Linked DNA regions of Homo sapiens: regions 1, 2, 3, 5 and 6 are each linked to region 4. Evidence: promoter capture Hi-C in 16 types of primary human blood cells and fetal thymus (Javierre and others, 2016). All regions are on one chromosome and are shown on one strand. Each heading gives the region's core, a stretch centred on a gene start or on the middle of the fragment in contact. The rest is flanking DNA. Distances are from core to core; before and after follow the strand shown.

Region 1 (3,265 bases), core at 731-3,230, 270 kb after region 4:
CGTGGGGTAGCGACTCCTGTAGCCCAGTGACCCAGTCCTCACAGGGTTCCCAAGTCTCAGCAGGGGAGAAAAGCACCCAACCAGGAGCAAGGTTCTAGGTCCCACTGGGCTCTGTCCCCTCAGGCCTTCTGCGTGACACCACGCCAGCCAGCACTTCCTCTCTCTGGCCTCAGTTTCCTCATCCGGGGCAAGGGCACCACCGCGGTGATGGAGATAAGACAGGAAAGGGCCGTGGGCCACGTGAGGCCACGCTCCCGGGTACACAGACGCATAAACAGGAAGGCCTGCGGGAGGGCCCGCCTTGGCTGCTTCCGCAGGAAGAACCAGGATCTCCCCAAGATGAGAAGCCGTGTGGGGCCCAGAGAAGAGCTGAGGTGCTGGGGGCCAGCTGGGGAAGAGTTAATCCCAAGTACGAGGGCAGAAATCAGGGCAGGGTGCCCCTCCCCAGGAGGGCCTGGCCTCTGCCAGCCATCCTCTCCCCCTCCTTTTGGTCTTCCAGGAGGTCTCGACTATCTCCAAAGACTCAGTCACTTCCTCCCACTGAGCCAGCCGCCAAAGAGGGGACCGATGTGTGTGTGTGTGTGTGTGTGTGTGTACCCATTCTCCACCTCCCCCATCAACGGTCCCTAACACCGACATCACTAACTTTGCTTAAGGAAGATACTGGATGCGAGGAGGGAAAGGGCTGGAAGGGACTTGGCTCGCCGGAGCCGCACAGCCATGTGACAGACATGCCTCTTGTCACACACATCTAGCACACTCCAGCTCCGTGCGTGTGAGCACACACACACACACACACACAATCCCACGTGCCAGGCAGGCCTCCCCAACCTCCGGCCCACCACTGCCTCAGCCGCCACCCTCGTGGCATGCGCTCTCCTTCCCTCCCTCGGAAGCAGTCCGCAGGAAGCCAACACAGGAGGCCAGACATGGCGGCCTCGGCACACCCGGGGCAGCAGAGACACAGCGGCAGGGGCTATCGGGAAGGCCGAAGGGATGCCTCCCCCAAGAACAGACCCCACCATTCTCCTCCCGTCCTCCACCCTCAGAGCCCGGGCAGGACAGCACCTAGGGCCTGGGTGGGACAGCCTGGCCTGGGCACGGGTCTGGGTCAGGACCTCTTGGAGGCCTCCACCCCAGCTGCCCAACACCCACCATTACCCCTGATGCCAGGCTGGGCCTGGGTGGCTAGGAGCGAAGCCCCCACGGGAGCGGCTAGGAATAGAAGAACCCCCAGGAGGGACCCGGGAGCCTGGAGCAGGGGCCCAGCCTGGCCCCCAAAAGTGGTGGAGCGGTAGGACCTGGGTGCACCTGGAGTCAGGACCAGTACAGGGCACGGGCAGGGCCGCAGGCAGCCCCTAAAGCCCGGAAGAAGGAGAGAGGAAGAGGATCCCTGATTAGGCAGGTATTGAGCAGCTTCTCCCATGAGGCAGTCAGGGACCCCAGCCCAGTAGAAAGGCCTCTGAGAACCCCTTAGGCCAGGGGCCACCCCCAGGGCCCAATGTCACCCACTTGTCACCTGTTCCCTGGTCCTGGAAACCCACGTGTCAAGCAGCAGCTCCAGGCGCAAGCGGTGGAAAGCCCGGGTCGTCTTCACTGCAATGAAGACATCGTGTAGCTGTAGCTTAGGGGGCCCCGGGTTCGGCTGGCTCAGCTCGGGGGTCCCTTGTACCCGCTGCGGGGACAGGTTCAAGTGGTACCGCAGACACAGGAGCCCCATGCACAGGAGGGTGAGGAGGGCTCCAGCCAGGCCCCGCGGGAGCCGGCACTGCATTGGTTGGCCCTGGGACCCCAGACAGCTCAGCCCCCAAATCCCAACCAGACAGGGAGGGGAAGCTGGTCAGGCAGGGGCTCCAGCAGAGGCAAAAGTCTGGCAGGCATCAGGGGCTGGCAAGGAGGGAAGAGGTAGGAGCTGAGGCTCTGGACCCAGAGGCTGAGCCATGGCAGCACGATCTCGACCGCCGCCAGTCCTCCACCTGCTCCCGCTGTCCGGCCTGCCGCAGCCTCCGGGACCGCCTGGCCCCGCCCCGCTTAGCCCGAGGGGCGGGGCCAGACGAAGGGAACCCCAGACAGAGGCGGCTGAAAGGAGGCACCAGCAGAAAGGGCAGCCCCGGCTCTGCCAGCTGCTGCGGTGGGAGGAAGTCACAACAAACCCTCCGTGCCCGGTGGAAGGGAGTGTCCTCCAGCACCGTCCACTCCCCCAGAGAGCTGTCAGCTCGGCCCATTCAACACCCATTACTTTGGTGTCCTGCTTCACCCAGCCCCCAGCTTTTGCTCACAGGTTTCCTCCGGGATGCTCTCCCATATTCCACCAGCCTCACCCACATTCCCTCCACTAGGCTGAGTTCTATCTGGACTTCAAAGCTTAAGGGTTCCCTCCTCCAGGAAGCCTTCCGTGATAACCTCTTAACCTCTGGGGCTCCCACAGTTGTTCGCTCAGTTCCTGAGGTCTTCACAACAGCACTGGGACTGTCGTTCCCAGTTTATAGCTGAAGACATAAGGCACAAAGGCACAGAATGAGCAAAAACGATCCAGCAACTCAGCCGCAGAGCTGGCAGAACCCAGGTCTCTGTTCCTCATCTAGTTCACAGGAGGTCCCCTGAGGGCACCTGTCCAGCTGTGCCCCAGCCCATACCCGACCTCACTCCGCAGTCTCTGGAGCTGCCTCTCTCCCAGCACCTGACCAGTGGACAGACAGAGGGCCTTCTCCAGCCACCACCTCCATCTTGTTTCGCACAAGCTCACTCACACCTCCTCCCTCCTCCACTCAGAGCCTGCACTGGCTCCCATTTTCTTCAGAACAAAAGCCAAAACGCACACAGCAGCCCACAAGGCCCTGCGTGAGCTGGCTCCCAAGTTACTCCCACCCCATCTCCTGCTACTCACCCTGCTCCACTCCAGAACCTGGGACCCTCGCTGGCCCAGGCACCTGGCCGCCACAGGACCTTGGCACTTGCTGTTCCCACCTGGGCCCCTCCCTAGAGACCTGCACGTCTCACTCCCCCACTCCCTTCTGGTCTTTACACAAAGGTCACCGTCTCTGTGAGGCCTTCCCTGACCACGTTATTAACATTGCAACCCCTCGCCGCCTCCTTCCCAGCCCCCCAGGCCTGTCCCTCTCAAGCCACTTCACTGTTTTCTTCATCACACTTTTCATCTTCCAACATTCTGTATGTTTAACTAAGTTTCTGTCCTCCTCATGAGAATATCAGGGCAGGATTTATTTTTTGATCACTGAGTCCCTAATCCCCAGTGCCTAGAACA
Region 2 (3,442 bases), core at 943-3,442, 350 kb before region 4:
ACCTATTATAAATGTACTTGTGTTTATACTCATTTGTCACCGACTGCAACCTAAACATCTAAACACATTCTCTCACAGCCACAATGCCACCACTATACACATTATATGGTCTTTTATAGACACAACACAAATGCACTTACACTTGCCTATGCGAGCTGTATGTGTTTATACACAAATATGTGTTTCCAACTATAGGCATATACTACACACACAGTTTACACAATCACCTACAAATTCTGTATCATGCTTGCTTGCTAAAATTGTTTTGCCACTTCCTGTCCTTCCTGACCAACTGTAGGCCAATGTCCTCCTCTTCCCTCAGTTATGGCTGTGTGCTTGCACCTGTTGGTACTTACAGACACCTGCACTAATAACCCTGCTCTGTGTTTCATTTCATCCTCTAGCCTGGGAGCCCCGAGACACCAGCAACTCATCAGACTTATTGTTTGTATTATTTCTAGTTCTTTGGGTGTGAATTCTTCATGATGTGGAGGCTCTGAGCTGTCTTTCACAGCTCACGATTTGTAGTTTTGGTCTGTGAGTTGACAGAGTAGGCCCTGCAGAGTCACTGACTCCAAGCTGTTTTTATATAATGCCTCAGCTTAGGATTTCTGCACCACGTGGGTAGCTTATATCGGGGCCTTACACCAGTGCAGAGGGCAGGCTTGAGGCTGATCTGGTACACACGTCCCTTGTTCCACCCATGGACTGTGAGAGGACCTCAGCTCCTGCCGTGACTCTAGGCTGATGGCTGAGAAACTCTGTTCCCATAATCAGTTCTGACACCCACTTTACACTGAGAACTCAGATTTGACTTTCTGCTAACAGCAGGACCTGTGGCCTGTACCTAGTCCCAGATTTGGCATTAAAATCTCAGCCCAACAATGCATATCCAATCTTGGTTTTCCCATGGGCTGTTGGCCACGTTCCTCTCCCCCTGGTATAGATTCCTGACCCCTCTCTTTGATCCTACCTAAAAATTATGCTTTCTTGTTTTTTTTAGCTGGGACTTGTATGTTTAAAGTAGTTTAAAACAACTTTCTGCTCTGCATGTATGAATACGAGTGTGTGAGCGTGTGTAGCTGGCAGGGAGTTACTGGGTGTGGCTGTGCCAATGACTCCTGTGGACCTCTTCTCAGAGAAGTCCCTTCAGAATCAAATACCCATACCTGTTAGGAGCTGCAGTCACTGACTGGCAGCGTTTCATTCATTCACTGAATATTGGTTGAGCACTTGCAATGTGCCAGGCACGCTGCTAGCCAAGGAGGCAGTCATTAAACATACAGATAAACAAACAAATGTGAGATGACAATAGTTATGAGTGCTCTGCAGTAGACGTGCAGGGACCTGTGAGAGAATGTAGTAGGGAGGGCCTTAATTTAGGGTGTGTGGTCAGGGAAGGCCTCGCTAAAGATGTAGCTTCTAAGCTGAGATGCAAAGGAGGCAGTGAAGAGCTTTTTCCAGCAGAGGGAACACCATGAGCATAGGCCTTGGGGCGGACGTCTTAGAACATTCTAGAAACGGAAAGGAGGCCAGTGAGAAAAAGGGAGCTCAGGAGCAGAGGCTGGGGAAGGCTGCAGGGCCTCAGGGGCATTGGAGGCAGGCAGGGCAAGGACTCTGGACTTTATCCTGAGCACAGGGTGATGGGGCAGGAGAGTTTAAGCAGGGAGGGTGAAACTCACTCTGATTGGCAGCCCTGTGAAAGAGGATTGGCTGGGCATGGAGATCTAAGGATGAGGAAAGGATATCCCAGAGTGCCAGGGCGCGCAAACCAAACTTCACACTCTAGGAAGACAGAGGCCAGAGGAACCAGGAGGGCTTCCTGGAGGAGGTGGCATTTACTCTGGGCCTAAGAGATCACAGGAAAATGGAGGCCAGCATTCTAGGCCTGGGGAAGAGTTTGGGCAAAGGCTTGGCAGTAAGAGAATAAAGGTGGGGCTTGATGGGCCAGAGGATAAGTGACTCCTCAAGGTCACAAGACACCCTGATGGCTGGGACCCCATCTCTGATGGAGCAAGGCTTCTGATACCCAACTGAGGCTTGGCGCCAAGGACTGACATCAAGGAAGTGGATTCCTGCAAACCTGGCACCCGAGGGTCCACTTCCTCAATTTCTGTGCAGCTGGGAGGTGAGGTAAGAGGAAGTGTGGGCCACAGGCTAGGCCCAGAGAGCCTGGAGGAGGAGCCTCTGCCAGACTGGAGAGAAGCAGGCCTGAGCCTCCCCAAAGGCAGCTCCTGGGGACTCCCAGGACCACAGGCTGAGACGAGACGCAGGGTGGCTGGAGGAAGTGAGAGGTGAACTCAGCCTGGGACTGGCTGGGCGAGACTCTCCACCTGCTCCCTGGGACCATCGCCCACCATGGCTGTGGCCCAGCAGCTGCGGGCCGAGAGGTGAGTGCCGGGGTGTGGCCGCCCCCGGGCCTTCTCACTGCTCCTCATAGGCCTTAGGGACAAAGGCCAGTCCTTCTGCAGTCCCTGATCAACATGAGAGGCTGGGGTTGAGTCAGAACCCAAATACTCAGAAATGCAACCTCTCAGAACTGCTTTAACGAAACTTTGAGCTGTGGCTCACCACCCTCAGACACAAATGAGAACACTGAGGCTCCAAGAGTGGGAGTGACTTGCCCACGGTCACACAACGAGTGACCGGCAGTGTCTGGAGAGGAATGCAGGTGTCCTGGGTCCCAGGCTGGGGCCCTTTGCTTCACATGGTGATCAGCAATGACTTTCCATCTTCTGCGCAAACAGAATTCACAGAATCTGGCTTGTTCTTCCGCTAATCAGGGCTTGCCTCAAATGTCACCTCCTCCAAGAAGCCTTCCTGACAGCCCCTACCTCATTGCTGTCTGACCCTTTGCCCTATTTCCCTTTTCTGCCTGGTTCTTATATTACAGGAATAATATTATATGCTCATTTATTATTTTTTCTTGAACGTTGGCTCCCCCATGAGAAGCAAGCTCCACGAGGCTGTGTCCGTTTTGATCGCTGCTGTATCACTAGGAGGTAGCTCATCCCTATTGAGCACCAGGACCAAGGGCTCAATAAATGTTGCTGAATGAATGAATAAATGAATGAATGAATGGGTGGATCTTTGAGACGGAAAAGGTCTTAGATTCTTCTAGTCCAACCTTGCCATTGTACAGATTGGAAATCTGAGGCCCAGGGAGGATAAGAGACTTACTCAGGGTCACAGAGAGTGACTGGCAAGGTTGGGGCTTGGAGCACGGCCTCACCAGCATCTAGCCTCGTCGCTTGGGAAGCATTTTCAGAATTTTTCCTCAGTAGCCAGGTCTGAGCTCTAAGCTGCGGGGGCCCTGAGGACGCAAAGCCTGGCCCCTGCACCCCCTGGATTGGAACAGCAGGTGACCTCTGTTACCTACGTGGAGGCCACTCAGGGGGTCACCAGAGACAGGCCAGGCTGGTGTGTGCCTACGCGGGGAACA
Region 3 (3,290 bases), core at 536-3,035, 350 kb after region 4:
ACACCTGCCAGTGCTGCCTGCTGGCTCACTGTCCTGATGCTGTTCCAGTTCTCCATGGGACAAAATACTCCTGGGCCGGCCCCCAGGGAAAGAGTTCCTACTGCTGTGCCACTTGAGCAAATGCTAGAATGCTTTGTGCCTCTGTTTCCTCATTTGTCCAGCTGCAGAAATAGCTCCTTCCCTTGGTGGCCAGCATGGGGATTCAGGGAGCCAGTGGAAGAGGCCTAGCCCCTGGGTGAACAGTAAAGACCTTGTCTCCTCCACCTGCGGGTAAATACAGCTCCTCATCCCCGGCCACAACAGCGCTCAGCCAGTCTCCTTCAGCCGGGTTTGCCTCCGCTGCAGGGTCCTCCACTCCCAGCCTTTGCTGTGCTGTCCCTTGCCAGCTGTGCACTGTGCATTTCCACTGCCCTTCCCTCTGCCTACACGTCCTTTAAGACTTAACTCACAACCATGCAGTGGCTCACACCCATAATCCTAGCACTTGAGGAGGCCAAGGCAGGCGGATCACCTGAGGTAAGGAGTTCAAGACCAGCCTGGCCAACATGGTGAAGCCCCCTCTCTACTAAAAAATACAAAAATTAGCCGGGCGTGGGTGGGTGCCTGTAATCCCAGCTAGTCCGGAGGCTTAGGAGGGAGAATCGCTTGAACCCGGGAGGTGGAAGCTGCAGTGAGCTGAGATCATGCCATGGCACTCCAGCCTGAGCAACAGAGAGAGACTCCGTCTCAAAAAAAAAAAAAAAAAAAAAAAAAAAAAAAAAAAAAAAAAAAAGAGAGAGAGAGAGACTTAACTCAGGTATCATCTCCTCTAGGAAGATTTCCTGAGCCCCCAGGCCCTGCAGGAAGTATTAGGGACCTCTCTGTGCCCTGACAGCCCGAGGACTCTATAGTCAGATGGGAGTAGTCAAAGGAGGGCACAACAACGGGAGGCAGGGGCCAGAGATCTATCTCCCCTCCTTGAGGATGGCACAGGGTCCCGGGTATGGCTGATTCCCTGCCCTCCATGGAGGTGGGCGGGGTGGGGGGAGGGTCTGTAAAGTCTCTGAGATGCGACTTCATTTACCTGCCGAGCAAGCCTCCTAGGTGCTCTTGGAGCAGGAAACACTTCACACAACATCTGATGCTGCTATTATCTATCCCACTTTCAGATCAGGAAACTGAGGCAGAGAAAGGTAAGTAGTGACTGAGGCAGGACAGGAGCCCAGGCTGTCCGGCTCCAGGGTCCCGGTCTTGACGGCCACTCTACCCCACTCTACCAGTCGCCCCAGTATGGCTGTCTTCCTCCTGGGCACCGCGGGGCCTGTACCGGATGGAAGGGAATGAGAATGGGGAGCAAAGGAGTGGGCATGTCATGCCTGTAAACATCAAGGTTTAAAGGCCCAGGCATTCAAGGCCTCAGATCGAGCTTCCCGGTTCCCCGAACTCCCGCAGGGCGCGGCTGGAGGGCCCAGGAGGGAGGAGAGTTCATCAGGCCTGGACGCCCCAAGCAAGGCCACGAGGGGAACCGGTGGAAGAGGGGTTGGCGGCCGGGGACCGGAGTCGCCTCCCCGGGGCAGCCCGCACGTTCCCCGGCTGGCCTTGTCCGGGGTGGCGAGCAGAGGCCTGGCCTGGCCCCCCAGCCGCGTCCCTGCCAGCTCTCGGCGGCCGCGAGGACGGTGCCGGGGAGGGGGCCGGGGAGGGGGCCGGGCCCCGCCCGCGGGCGGGAGGAGACGGGCGGGAGGCGGGAGCGCCCACACCCCGCCCCCGCCCCCGGATCCAGCCCGCGGAGCCCGCGGCCAGGGCGGCGCAGACCGGCCCAGCGACTCTCCCGGGCTGCCAGCCGGGACGCGCGGCCGCCGCCGCTGCAGACGACGAGTCCGCCCTCGTCCCGCGCCCCCGGGGCTCGCGGAGCCAGGTAACAGCCCGGGCGCGCGGGTCCTCGGGGCGGAGGCCGTGGAGGCCGGCGGGTCCCGGCGCCCGCGGGGACTCTGCACCCTACTAGGCTCCCGGGGCCGGAACGGGGACGGGACCCGCCCGGGAGAGGCGCCCCCGGGTGCCCACAGGAAGGCCGGGCGCGGCCGCGGAGCCGCGCGAGGAAACTCCGAGCTTTCGGGCTTCGTGTCCCGTTCCAGGCTGGTGGAGGGGGCAGAGGATCGGACACGGCTGAGCGGCCAAAATGCGCGAGGAGGGGGCGAGCCGAGGGGCAGAGCGGGGGCTGTCTCCGCGCCTTCCTGCGCGGGGGAAGGAAGGGCCGGGGCGGGCAGCGGGCGACGCGGCGGAATGTCTCCCCTCCGCCGAGGCCCACGCGGAGAGCGGGAAGTGGGGGGTGGGGGGCCCGGGGAGATGGACAGGCACCCTGCCCCCCTCCCCGACCGCCGCATTCCAGGCTGGAGCCGCGGATGAGGTCATCCCGTCCGGTTCCCCTCCGGCCAAGACAGCCGGTCGTCCCCTTCCCCCGCGGAGCGACCCTCCGCGTCCTGAGCCCCGTCCCCCCAGGGAATGTTGGATGGCCGAAGTCTTTCCCGGACTTCCAATCCCGGCCGCCCTCCAGATTGTTCTGCCTTTGCCCCAGCAGTGCCAGACCCGCAACATTCGAAGCCCTTTTCCTAGACCGGGAAACTGAGGCTTAGAGAGTAGGGGGGACTGGCCGGGAGGCCGCAGCGGCACTAAACGTGGCGCGGGGACCCGAGACGCGGCCCGCAGCCGCTCCGTCTCGCTCGGTCCCGGGCTGGTTCGGCTCTAACTCGGGGCGGTGGGCACGAAGCGCGTCTCCTTTCCACTTTCCCCGTCGCTCCCTAATGGCCCACGGTGCCCCCCTTGGAATACGGAGGACCGGGTCCCCTAGCGCGACTGCGAACAACTAGCTACCCCGTTCTGGCCTCAGTTTCCCCGTCTCTCCACCTTGAAGCGTCTGGACTTTGAGGAGCAGGAGAAGTCAGCCGACCGGTTTAACCCCTTATTCCAGGGACCAGAGCAGGTTTGGGGGAGCTGCCGTAACCATGACAGGGACCCGCTGTCCAGCGGTGGGGGGGGGCGTCACCCAGCTGGATGCCCGCAGGAAGTGGGCTGTGTGCACCCGAGCAGTGGCCTCCAGGATGAGACGTGGGCCCCTGGCCAGCACTGCGGCCTGCGGGTGACCCCCAGGTGAATGCCAGGGTGCAGCCGCCCCCGCTCTCCTTCAGACCCGCCCTTGGCCTCCCCGCGACCACATGTGCCTCCACAGCGACCCCTGTTGGCCCGATCCCGGCTCCAAAACTTGTTCTTGCGTCATTCCCACCATTGAGTGAGCTCAGGCCATGTGCCCAGGCCCT
Region 4 (3,411 bases), core at 21-2,520:
CCTGGCTCTCTGCTTGTCCTCTACATGCTTCGGCCTTCCCCCCAAAGACACCTGGCTTATGCTTGCCAGTGCCGACTGACTCACTGGCACCCCAGGCCTGGGGCCTGATCCCAGGAGCACACCCTACAGGCCCAGCGCTGGGGGCTTGGGCTCTGCTGCACAGCGATGATGCCAAATTGCTGTGTGACCTCGGGCAAGTCACTTCTCCCCGCTGCACCTCAGTTTCGTCATATGGAAGACAAGCGGACCCACCTCCCAGGGTTGTTTGCAGAGATTAAACGGAGGCGTGCCAAGCACAGTGCCGGGTATGGAGGGGGAGCTCAGGAGAGCTGCCACGTGAGCTGGGGAAGCCAACGACATGATACATCTGGCTCCCTCCAGCCCTGACAGCCTGCGATTCTGTGATTCCGAGATCCTAGAATCATGGCACGAGATTCTGAGACTAACGCCCCTGCCCCTGCAGCCGACCGGGAGGTCACAGGAAGGCCTCCCTCCTGCCTCCCTGGGAGTCCCCACCCTCTGCCTCCCCAGCCCCAGCCTCCCAAGTTCATCCTGGGCAGAGGATGGGCTTCCAGGACCCCACCCTTCGGGACATCATCCGGGCCCCAGCCTCCTTACCTGCCCATGGGGTGAGGGCTTCCCTCCTTGCCGCCAGGCTGGTTATCATTCTGCTGTCCCCTCTCCCTGCCCAGTCCCCAGGTGCCCCCAGGGCACTCCTAACTAGGGTCCCCACAAGGCACCCACTTCTAGACCGCTTGCGGGCTCAGGTTCCCTCCCAGGCCCTCGGCCACGGCTGTCCACAGAGCCTCTCCCATCTGGTCTCCGGCCCTGACTTCCCAACCAGAGCCTGGTACGTCACCCCCCATCTCCAGGACACATCCTGGGGGGGCAGGGGCAAGGATAGGGGGGAGAAGCTTCCCAGGGTGAGGAAGAGAAGAGGGGAGCAAGGGACACAGAAGCCAATAGAAATAGAGGGGAAAGGGGGTCGGGAGGAGGTGGAGAAAGAGAGAGAGAGAGAAAGAGGGAGGGGGAGAGAGAGAGAGGGAGAGGGAGAGGAGACCGTGAGTAGGAGGAAAGGCAGAATGAGGGGGAGTGATGAGAGATGCGTGACAGGGAGAAGACGAGAAGGAAAGAGAGGAGAGGAGACACGGGTGAGAGGGAGAGATGCAGAGAGAGGCAGGAGGGAGGAAGGAGAATGAGGGGGTGGCAGGGAGAGTGACAGAGAGGGACTGTGCCACAGATGGTGACATGGAGCCCGTGAAGGAGGGAGTAAGCAGGGAGGGGCTGAGGGCCGGAGAGCAGGTGTGGGGGGTGGGGGCGGGGTGCAGGTTAAGGGAGGAGGCCCGGAGAGGGAGCAGGAGGGGCGCAGACCCTGTTACCGGGGAGATTTCAGCCACCCACGCCCGCTGGCCTTGGCTCCTGCAGGGAGTTGGAGAGAAGAATGTGCTCAGTGCTCAGGGGAGCCGAGGCTGCCAGCCAGTAGCCAGAGCAGCTCGTGAGGCCACTGCGGCACAGGTCCCCCGGGGCAGCAGCTGTGTCCCAAGGCAAGGCTGGGTGTGGGGCTGGCCAGCCCGGGAGTCCACAGTCCAGCCCTGCAGTCGGGCACACCGGCCGCAGCACGGACCACTGGGGAGGCCGGGTGGGGGTCATTAGTCCTGGGATTGGTTACATCTGGAGAGCCCCAGGCAGGGTGAGGAGTGGAAGGACAGAACAGAGAACCAATATTTTAGGCTTTGAGGGCAAAATCATTGTGCAGTGAGAAAACAGATTTTTACTATTTTGTAACTGACAAAACTCAAAATAGAATAATAATAATTGAGGCCAGTATTTTGTAATGTAGGTCCACTCATGAGAAGAATAGAGTTCTTTTTACAGACATCACCTTTTGCTTAATTGGAGTTTAGAGTTAGTGTTTCATCAAACCGATTGCAAATGTTCATCCGTAAAAACCATTCTCAGCTCCTAGGCTGTACAAAAACAGGCAGTGGGTGGGATTTGCCCCGTGGGCCATATTTACTGATCTTTGGTCTAAGAGACTCTGCCGTACAGTCCTGAGCACAGGCCCAGATGTCTTGGGATGCCGTGCCCCTGCCTGTGCTGATTCCTGCCTCAGCACAGGAGTGATAAGGAAAGGAACAGTCAGAGACGGAAGGGAAAAGGACACACGTCTTGGCTGAGCACCTACTATGTGCCAGGCTGTACCTAGGCTGCTTTCCAAACTGGGCCATTCCCTGGGACCAGGGCTGGACCTCCTTTGTCACTAGGTACCTGGCACTGCAGAGAACTGGAAGTTGAATGCATCCAGAGGTGCCACCATGCATGCGGCAGCACACAGTAGGACACACCCACTTCCAGCCGGAGCCGGCCTGGTCTCTTAACGCTGCCCGTCCCTTTGCCTTGTGCCCGGGACAAGGCCCTTGCTCCAGGTCTCAGCCTCCCATTGTCCTTGTCCGTACAAGTTCATGAGGTGTGGGTGGGCTCCTGGGAGCGTGTCCTCAGGGTCAAGGGTGGGTTTTCCATGGCACTGACCACCCACCCCTACCCACGGCTTCTCACTGCCCTCAGAATAAAGCTCTCTCGCCGCAGCCCACCTGGCACTGCATCCTTGATTCCTGCCGCCTGCGCGGGCCTCCTCCTCTGCTGATTTCACTCGCTCCTCTGTGCCCCAGGCGTACCCAGCCTCATGTATTCATTCACTTATTCCTGCAGGTTGGGGTATAGGGGCTGAAGACTGGACAGGGGAGTTTGAGCCCCAGCTCTACCCCTGCCGTGCACTGAACTTAAACTTCGGTTTTCTCCTTCAGTAGATTGTACACACCTGACTGCCTGGCCTGGGGGTTCTTGCGAAGGTTAAAGGAGTGAATGCTCATCAGTGTGCCCCCTGCCACACACCTCCCCAGCACCGAGCCTTACTGCTCCAGCCTGGAACCCGTCCACTGCTCTCCATCCACAGGCTCCCGTCTGAGCCAGGCCACTGAAGGGGTTCAGGACACGCCACCCCAGAATACACCACTCTGGCATATTGATTTCTCTGCACTAAAGGCACTTCAGAAACAGCAGGTGCAGAAAGGGGGCTCTGACCTCCCCTTTTCTTCCTGAAAGCAGGAGCTAAAACGCCTTGTGAAAGACGCCCTCCCTATGCCAGGAGGAGGAAAGACATTACCAGATAAGGAGAGTCGAGGCCAAAAGAAATCTGTATGAACAGATCTTTTAATCCTTATCTTCCTAGTTACACAATTGCCATTCTATGTTCAACCTGGTACAAAAGCCTTTATGCCTAGTCACTTCTTTGGGTCTTGGTCATTTGGGCGGGAGGCGGGGGGGCTCCCTTGTACATGTAAATGAAATCTGTATGTTTTTCTCCTGCTGATCTGCCTTATGTCAGTTTAATTCTTCAGCCCAGCCAGAGAC
Region 5 (3,585 bases), core at 362-2,861, 400 kb before region 4:
GCTGGGAGTGGAAGAGGTGTGCTCAAACCCAGACCTCCCTGGCTCTCAAGCCCGCCCCCACGCCCCACCTCCACTGCACCCATTGCTGATGATGGGAGCAGCACCTAAGAACCAAAGGCTTTTGTTCTTCTGAGAACCTTGTGCCCAGGAAGACTTTTGAGTGCCAGCTGGTTGGGAGTGGGCTGGGGAATTGAAGGGGGCATGAACATGGTCCTGGGGTTAGGGGGAGGAGGGTTGACCTTCTTTCTTGGCCACAGACTTTGTTGCCAGAAAATTGACATAGAAAGGACAGGTTTCCCTCAAGGTCATACAGTGGGAGGAGGAGGGGCAAACCCGGAAGTCCTGGCTCTGCGCAGAAATCCACTTCGGAGGCAGTGGGAAGGGGGTGTTAGGAGGCTCCCGAGAAACACCCAGTTAAGTTTCTTCCCACATGGGCTTGAGGTGAAGGGAGAGGGTTATCCCAGGACCCTGGGAGGGTGGCTTCCCAGAGAGGTTCTTGTGCCCAGGGGAGGGGGTGCAAAGCAGAAAGGAAATGGGGGTCCTTTTCTACCTGCAATTTTCTGTATCTTGGGGTCCTGTTTTAGAACACCTGGGGAAGGGTACAATGTTAGATCATGTATTTTGTGTGTGTGTGTGTGTGTGTGTGTGTGTAGGGAATGGCTGTTGAAGTCATGTTCTCTTCCCCTCAGCACAGGGCTAGAGACAAGGAAAGTTGCCCTGTCCACCTCCGACACTAGGCTGGGCAACCCAGTTCTAATACCCCTTCTGCCCAGCTAGGTGACCTTGGGCAAATGTCTTGTCCTCTCCAAGACAGTTCCCTGATTTCCCCATCTGGAGGACAGGGGAGGAGGAAGGCGGGCAGCTTAGCGCTGAAGTCCCGGGCAGCTGGGAGAGGTGAGACTGCCAGTTCCCCTCCCCTGCCCGCCTAAGGAGGCTGGAGGTTTGAGGCACTGAGGATGCCCCGTGCGGGCTTAGGCAGAGCTGTGCGCCGGCTCCAGAAGGTCACCTCGCCCGCAGGTCCGTTGCTGAATCTCAGTAAAGGAACTAGGACAGTCAGGGGGCCAACAAAGGCTACCGCCTGGCGGGAAAAGTCCTGTCCAGAATGAGGGTCCAGGAAAGGGGTCTCTTGGAGAGGAGGATGCCCCCTGCAGTCCCCTCTAAGTGCCTTAAAGAGGACGTCCAGAGAGCTCGTACAAGGACCCTGGAGGTCTCTCCTCCGACCCTGGTCTTCGCCCTTGGTCCCGGACCCTGAGTCCTCCCAGCCACCGGGCCTTCAGCACCCTCAAGTTTCTGTAACTTAGGCGGGGCGCCCTCTTCCCCGCCCGCTCCCCGCGCCAAGCCTCGCCCGGACAGAGTTTGGGAACTGCCAAGGACGCCCCCGCCCCGACCTCGCCGGCGCCCAGCGGGAAGTGTGGGCAGAAGCGCGCTGGGGAGGATCCGCCGGCTGCGGGGCCGGCGGAGTGCAGGGGCGCGGGCGGTGGACGAGGGGAGAGGGATGGGGAGGGGAGCGCGCTTGCTCACCGCTAAAGGCTCCCACCGCCTTCTTGATGTCCTCAGCGTTCAGCAAGTCTGTCATCGACATCCTGCAACTGTTTGAGCGGGCAGAGCAAGTGCGAAAAGATTAAAAAGTGCTTTTCTCATCATTTCTGCTCATATGACCAGCGCTGCAGTGCTGCGCGCCGGGCGCACGCCCGCCGGGCCTGGCATGGCGCCAGGGGCCCGGACTCTGAGCGCAGCGGGAGCGGCTCAGTCCAGCCGCGCCGCTGAGCAGCGCCGGCCGCCGGCAAGAAGGCGCGCGGACCTGCTACCACTCCTGCACCGCCAGGCCAGGGGTCCGCGGGATCCCAGGGGCTGCGGCCAGGGCACGAGGGAAGGGGCCACCTCTGGGATTTAGGGGGCACTGGCGTCACCAGCTGGGTCTGGAAAGTCCACCTGCCGTCAAGGACACGCAGGAGGTGCGCCGTCTCAGATCTGGGAACCTTGGCGGATGTCCTGCCGCGTGGGGGAAGATCCTGAACCTTCAGCGGCCAGCCTGCACCTCAGGACCTCCTAGGCCCTGCTCCCTTTCTCTCTCCACTCCTACCTCAGCCTCTGCTCTGGTCTGTCCTGGATGCAAATTTATGCTGCAAAATCTGAGCGCTGAGGTCCTGAAACCTGACCCACCCGACGCAGGGAGGAGGTGGCAGGGACAGGGACAGGGACAGGCAGGAGCTGCTGGGGCCCACTTCGGGTGCCCCATCCCACATCTGGCCAGGGATGCATATTCTAAAACCTGATTTGATGTTTTACTTTTATTTTTTATTTTTTTGCTGGCTTGATTTTTCGAAGAACACTTCTCAGATCTCTACTAACTACTTGCTTTCCTGGTCTCCTGGGTCCTGGCATCATGGGTCCAGACTCCCCCTACTCCTATAAACCTTTTTTGGGCAGAGTAGGGTGGGAGAGTCCGCTTGGAATTGCTATGCTCCCTCCCAGAAAGCCCCATATGTGTTTGGAAGAAGGGTAGCACCTTCAGACCACACTTTCTAGACAACCTAAGCAGGTGTAGGGGTCTGAACTTCACCTCTGGAAAAATGTCACGGTGCCTATCTGTATGCAGCCAGAGACCCGTTGTGTTCTTCCCCATGGTTCCCAAGGTTTCAAGCTGCAACCAGCTGCTTCTAGAGTGTGTGAGCGCTGGACAGGGAGTCAGGAGGCCTGGGTTCTAGATCCTGGGCTGCACTAAGTCCCAGTGTGACCTTGGGTTGTGACCTTCTCTGGGCTTCTGTCTCCTTCTGATGTGTTGATGACGTCAGTGGTCCCATGTAGTGGGACCTGGGGACTGCAACTTAAGGTATTGGCAGGTAGGCAGGGCCTTGGGCTGTGGTGGCCCTGGGTGGTGGGGACCAGGGAGAGCAGCTGTCCAGCTGCCCAGTAACTCAAGTTCCCTGACATCGCTGTCAACATTGTCTCCTGCAGCTCAGCCCTGGATGGCTGCCCTTCCTGGAAACCTTAGGATACCTCTGCTGGCTCCAGCTGCCCCCTCCCTGTGAGTCAGCTCCTTCAAGCCACAGCCCGCCAGATGGCTTCCAAGGCACCAAGGATGCAGCTCCTGACCTGATGCCTCTCAGCTCCAGGACTTCCCAGGACCCCTCAGCTGCCCTGGACCCTGCTGCTACTGCCGTCACCTCTGCACCTTGTCCCCAGCTGGGCTGCTGACTCAGATATGCCAGGCTCCTATGCTATCATTTCAACTCCCAGGCTCAGCTCACTCCAGGAGCCTAGTTGGAGAATGGATTTCCCCAGCTGAAGGACGCTTCAGCTATACCAGTGGAGAAACGGAGGCACAGAGTCCGTGAATGGTCTAAGGACACATGGTAAAGCAATAGCAGAGCAGGGTACACCCCTGGACTCACTCGTGTGGAGTTCAGTGACTCTCTGGGTGATCCTCCCTGGTGCCTGGGACCCAGCTCTATCAGGTCCCATACATCTCAGCCACACACTGGCTCCTGGTGAGCCCCTAAGCAGCTACCCTGTGGCAAAGGCTGCAGCCTCAACAGGGGCCCACTCTTCTTCCATCTCCTTCCTCCATCTCTCCCTGCTGCT
Region 6 (3,497 bases), core at 73-2,572, 370 kb after region 4:
CATGGTGAAACCCTGTCTCTACTTTAAAAATACAAAAATTAGGCCAGGAGCAGTGGCTCACACCTGTAATCCCAGCACTTTGGGAGGCCAAGGCAGGTGGATCACCTGAGATCAGGAGTTCAAGACCAGCCTGACCAACATGGAGAAACCCCATCTCTACTAAAAATACAAAATTAATCGGGTGTGGTGGCCCATGCCTGTAATCCCTGCTACTCAGGAGGCTGAGGCAGGAGAATCGCTTGAACCTGGGAGGTGGAAGTTGTGGTGAGCCGAGATCGTGCCATTGCACTCCAGCCTGGGCAACAGAAACTCCATCTCAACAAAAAAAAAAAAATTAGCCAGGTGTGGTGACACATACCTGTAATCCCAGCTACTTGGGAGGCTGAGACCAGAGAATTGCTTGAACCCAGGCAGCAGAGGTTGCAGTGAGCTGAGATCGGGCCACTGCACTCCAGCCTGGGCAACAGAGCGAGACTCCATCTCAAAAAAAAAAAAAAAAAGAGAAAGAAAAGAAACAAACAAAATTAGCCAGTGTGGTAGTGAGTGCCTGGGGTCCCAGCTACTCAAGAGGCTGAGGTGGGAGGATCATTTAAGCCAAGGAGGTCAAGTCCGTAGTGAGTTATGATTGCCACCACTGCACTCCACCTGGTGACAGAGCAAGATGCTGTATTGTTGTTGTTGTTTTGAGATGGAGTCTCACTCTTGTTGCCCAGGCTGGAGTGCAATGGCACAATCTCGGCTCACCATAACCTCTGCCTCCCAGGTCCAAGTGATTCTCCTGCCTCAGCCTCCCCATTAGCTGGGATTACAGGCATGTGCCACCAGGCCTAGCCAATTTTGTATTTTTTTAGTAGAGACGGGGTTTCTCCATGTTGGTCAGGCTGGTCTCAAACTCCCAACCTCAGATGATCCACCAGCCTCGGCCTCCCAAAGTGCTGGGATTACAAGCAGGAGCCACCACGCCTGGCCCAAGATGCTGTTTTTTAAAAAAAGACCTCTGTCCAACTTCTTTGCTGCACAGATGGGGAAACTGAGGCCCAGAGAGGGACAGCAATGGTTTTCCCTAAAAGCCCCCACCCAGGCAAAGACAAAGATGAACAGAGTGGGGCAGGCAGCAGGGGGCTAGTGTCCTCACCGTCATGGTGACAGCTCCTGGCGGCAGCTCCCAGCGGCTCCTGGAGGCCTGTGCTCAGGGTCTCAACTCGTGGTCAAGCTTATATCCTAGAATATTACACATTAACTCCCTCAAGGTCCTAGGTGAGGACTTTGCCCCTTCTACCTTGTGTCTCCCCGCCTGCATCTCCCAGTACCCAGCACAAACAGGCAGAAGACTCCTCAGCCAGCTCCACCCCACCCAGCCCGGAGCATCCTCCTGGCCTCCCTCCAGCCCAGCCTCCCCCTCCTCAGCGCTCCCAGAGCCCGAGAGGGGAAGCAGCCCCAGCTCTGCCCCCACACAAACCGCAATGCAGCCGCTTGACAGCTCTCCCAGCCTCCCTCACTTAGCCCAGCTTCCTTGCCTGTAAAAAGAGAGATTTGCTTTGCAAAAAAAAAAAAAAGTCTAGGTTTCTAATTTTCTTTTTTTTTTTTTTTTGAGACAGAGTCTCACTCTGTCACCCAGGCTGGAGTGCAGTGGCAACGATCTCCGCTCAATGCAATCTCCTGGGTTCACACCATTCTGCTGCCTCAGCCTCCCGAGTAGCTGGAACTACAGGCACCCGCCACCATGCCCGGCTAATTTTTTGGTATTTTTAGTAGAGACGAGGTTTCACCGTATTAGCCAGGATGGTCTCGATCTCCTGACCTCGTGATCTGCCCACCTTGGCCTCCCAAAGTGCTGGGATTACAGGCGTGAGCCATTGCGCCTGGCCTAAGGTTCTAATTTTCTATGATGTTATGATTCATTGTCAGAGAGCATTATGTTTTCTTCTTCCCTCCCCATATTATTTATCTGATCGGACATGTAGGTTTCAAAACCAATACACGGATTCAAAGAAAAGATTTCAAACTATTTACAACAAATGGTCAAAAGCAGAGGAGAGCTGGGCGCGGTTGCTTAAGCCTGTAATCCCAGCACTTTGGGAGGCCAAGGCAGGCGGATCACCTGAAGTCAGGAGTTTGTGACCAGCCCGGCCAACATGGTGAAACCCCATCTCTACTAAAAATACAAAAATTAGCTGGGCGTGGTCGCACCTGTAGTCACAGCTGCTCAAGAGGCTGAGGCAGGAGAATCGCTTGAACCCGGGAGGTGGAGGTTACAGGGAGCTAAGATCGCGCCACTACACTCCAGCCTGGGCGACAGAGTGAGGCTCCGTCTCAAATAAAAAAATAAAAAATAAATAAAAGTGCAGAAGGAGTGGGAGGGCTGAGTGGGGGACATGGAGGATGAAAATGCTTTGCTCTTGACTTCTGTTACTTATGTAACTGGCATGCTTACTATAGACAATTAGAGATATTAAATAAAAAGAAAAATAATCACTCATAATGCCACCGCCACGAGGGAACTGGCTTACGCTGTTGGCACATTTCCTTCCAGGCGGTTCTCCACAGATTTACATTATAGACACCCCTCTGTCTGTGCAATTGTTTATCTCTCTTCATTTGGGAAACATTAAAGACCACAAATCTATATTTCAGAACCATACTTTAATGCCTGCGAAATAGTCTACCTTTCAACGACTGAATTTATTTAACCAATTTCCTTCTGCTGAACACTCACATTAATTCTACATTTTTGCTATTAAAAATACTGCTGCATTAAATCTATTTGGACATAAACTTTGGCTGCATCGTGACAACTTATGTAGGGCAGATTCCCAGAAGGAGAACTTTTCTAGAGCTCAGGATTTGGCGAGCCAGAGCGTTTTCCATCAGAGTTGGCGGTGGCCACTCCGGGCAGGATGTGGGGAACTGGCCTTGCCGAGGGCCCTCGGTGCCAGGAGTCTGCAGGTGGCTCACTGCCCAGTGCCCACATAGGACACCACCTTCAGTCCCCTGCCAGCCCGGAGTGAGGAGTGACTTCCTCCTTTCACCCACAAGGAAATTAATCCTCTCTCGGCCTTTCTCCCAAAGGCATGGTAAAACCCCAGTGAGATAAGGAATTTTAAAAGGCTTTCTCCCTGGAAACTAATCAACAGAAACTATACCTTTTAAAGGTGGCATTTTTCTGATTATAATAATAATATTATCTCACTATAGGAGGTTCCAGAAAGTACACACAGTAAAAGGAACTTAAAGTTCACTTGTTTTAAAATAATGTTCAAAAGCAGGGGAAAATGACCATGCATATCATTTACGTACTTTGCTGCGTATATATTTTATACCAATGAAAGATTTAAAAAAAGAAAAAAGAATGGCTGGGCATGGTGGCTCACCCCTGTAATCCCAGCACTTTGGGAAGCTGAGGTGGGTGGATCGCTTGAGTCCAGGAGTTCGAGACCAGCCTGGGCCACATAGTGAGACCCTATCTCTACTAAAAATTTTTTTTAATTAGCCAGGCA

What was found. Contacts are between HindIII fragments. The CHiCAGO score rates a contact against its expected background, and 5 or more counts as called.
Region 1: the fragment with the promoter of MFNG here is called in contact with the fragment with the promoter of SSTR3 in region 4 in 14 of 17 cell types (non-activated CD4 T cells, fetal thymus, activated CD4 T cells and 11 more); the score reaches 23.7 in non-activated CD4 T cells.
Region 2: the fragment with the promoter of NCF4 here is called in contact with the fragment with the promoter of SSTR3 in region 4 in 7 of 17 cell types (endothelial precursors, neutrophils, monocytes and 4 more); the score reaches 9.9 in endothelial precursors.
Region 3: a contact is called between the fragment with the promoter of CDC42EP1 here and the fragment with the promoter of SSTR3 in region 4, in 4 of 17 cell types (naive CD8 T cells, naive B cells, neutrophils and 1 more). The highest score is 10.0, in naive CD8 T cells.
Region 5: a contact is called between the fragment with the promoter of PVALB here and the fragment with the promoter of SSTR3 in region 4, in 3 of 17 cell types (erythroblasts, monocytes and neutrophils). The highest score is 11.1, in erythroblasts.
Region 6: the fragment with the promoter of LGALS2 here is called in contact with the fragment with the promoter of SSTR3 in region 4 in 2 of 17 cell types (total CD4 T cells and neutrophils); the score reaches 6.1 in total CD4 T cells.

The regions. Positions count from the first base shown.
Region 1 is chr22:37,484,404-37,487,668 of GRCh38, forward strand. MFNG (MFNG O-fucosylpeptide 3-beta-N-acetylglucosaminyltransferase) reads right to left here and starts at 1,981. Exons shown (of 8, transcript NM_002405.4): 1 at 1,520-1,981. The coding sequence starts at 1,774. RefSeq lists enhancers at 866-925, 1,326-1,375, 1,852-2,361, 2,362-2,873, 2,874-3,265 and 2 more and a silencer at 1,946-2,075. The HindIII fragment of the contact is 3,313 bases long and covers 1-2,362 here.
Region 2 is chr22:36,858,814-36,862,255 of GRCh38, forward strand. It overlaps NCF4 (neutrophil cytosolic factor 4), which reads left to right and starts at 2,193. Exons shown (of 10, transcript NM_000631.5): 1 at 2,193-2,390. The coding sequence starts at 2,359. All of the region lies in intron 1 of NCF4-AS1 (NCF4 antisense RNA 1), which reads right to left. The HindIII fragment of the contact is 9,996 bases long and covers 1-3,442 here.
Region 3 is chr22:37,558,695-37,561,984 of GRCh38, forward strand. CDC42EP1 (CDC42 effector protein 1) reads left to right here and starts at 1,786. Exons shown (of 3, transcript NM_152243.3): 1 at 1,786-1,894. RefSeq lists enhancers at 2,422-3,028, 3,029-3,290, 3,105-3,290. The HindIII fragment of the contact is 15,994 bases long and covers 1-3,290 here.
Region 4 is chr22:37,211,207-37,214,617 of GRCh38, forward strand. It overlaps SSTR3 (somatostatin receptor 3), which reads right to left and starts at 1,271. Exons shown (of 2, transcript NM_001051.5): 1 at 619-1,271. RefSeq lists an enhancer at 110-1,089. The HindIII fragment of the contact is 10,151 bases long and covers 913-3,411 here.
Region 5 is chr22:36,815,424-36,819,008 of GRCh38, forward strand. It overlaps PVALB (parvalbumin), which reads right to left and starts at 1,612. Exons shown (of 4, transcript NM_001315532.2): 1 at 1,522-1,612. The coding sequence starts at 1,582. The HindIII fragment of the contact is 33,107 bases long and covers 1-3,585 here.
Region 6 is chr22:37,578,765-37,582,261 of GRCh38, forward strand. It overlaps LGALS2 (galectin 2), which reads right to left and starts at 1,323. Exons shown (of 4, transcript NM_006498.3): 1 at 1,136-1,323. The coding sequence starts at 1,141. RefSeq lists a silencer at 1,650-1,709. The HindIII fragment of the contact is 11,270 bases long and covers 1,212-3,497 here.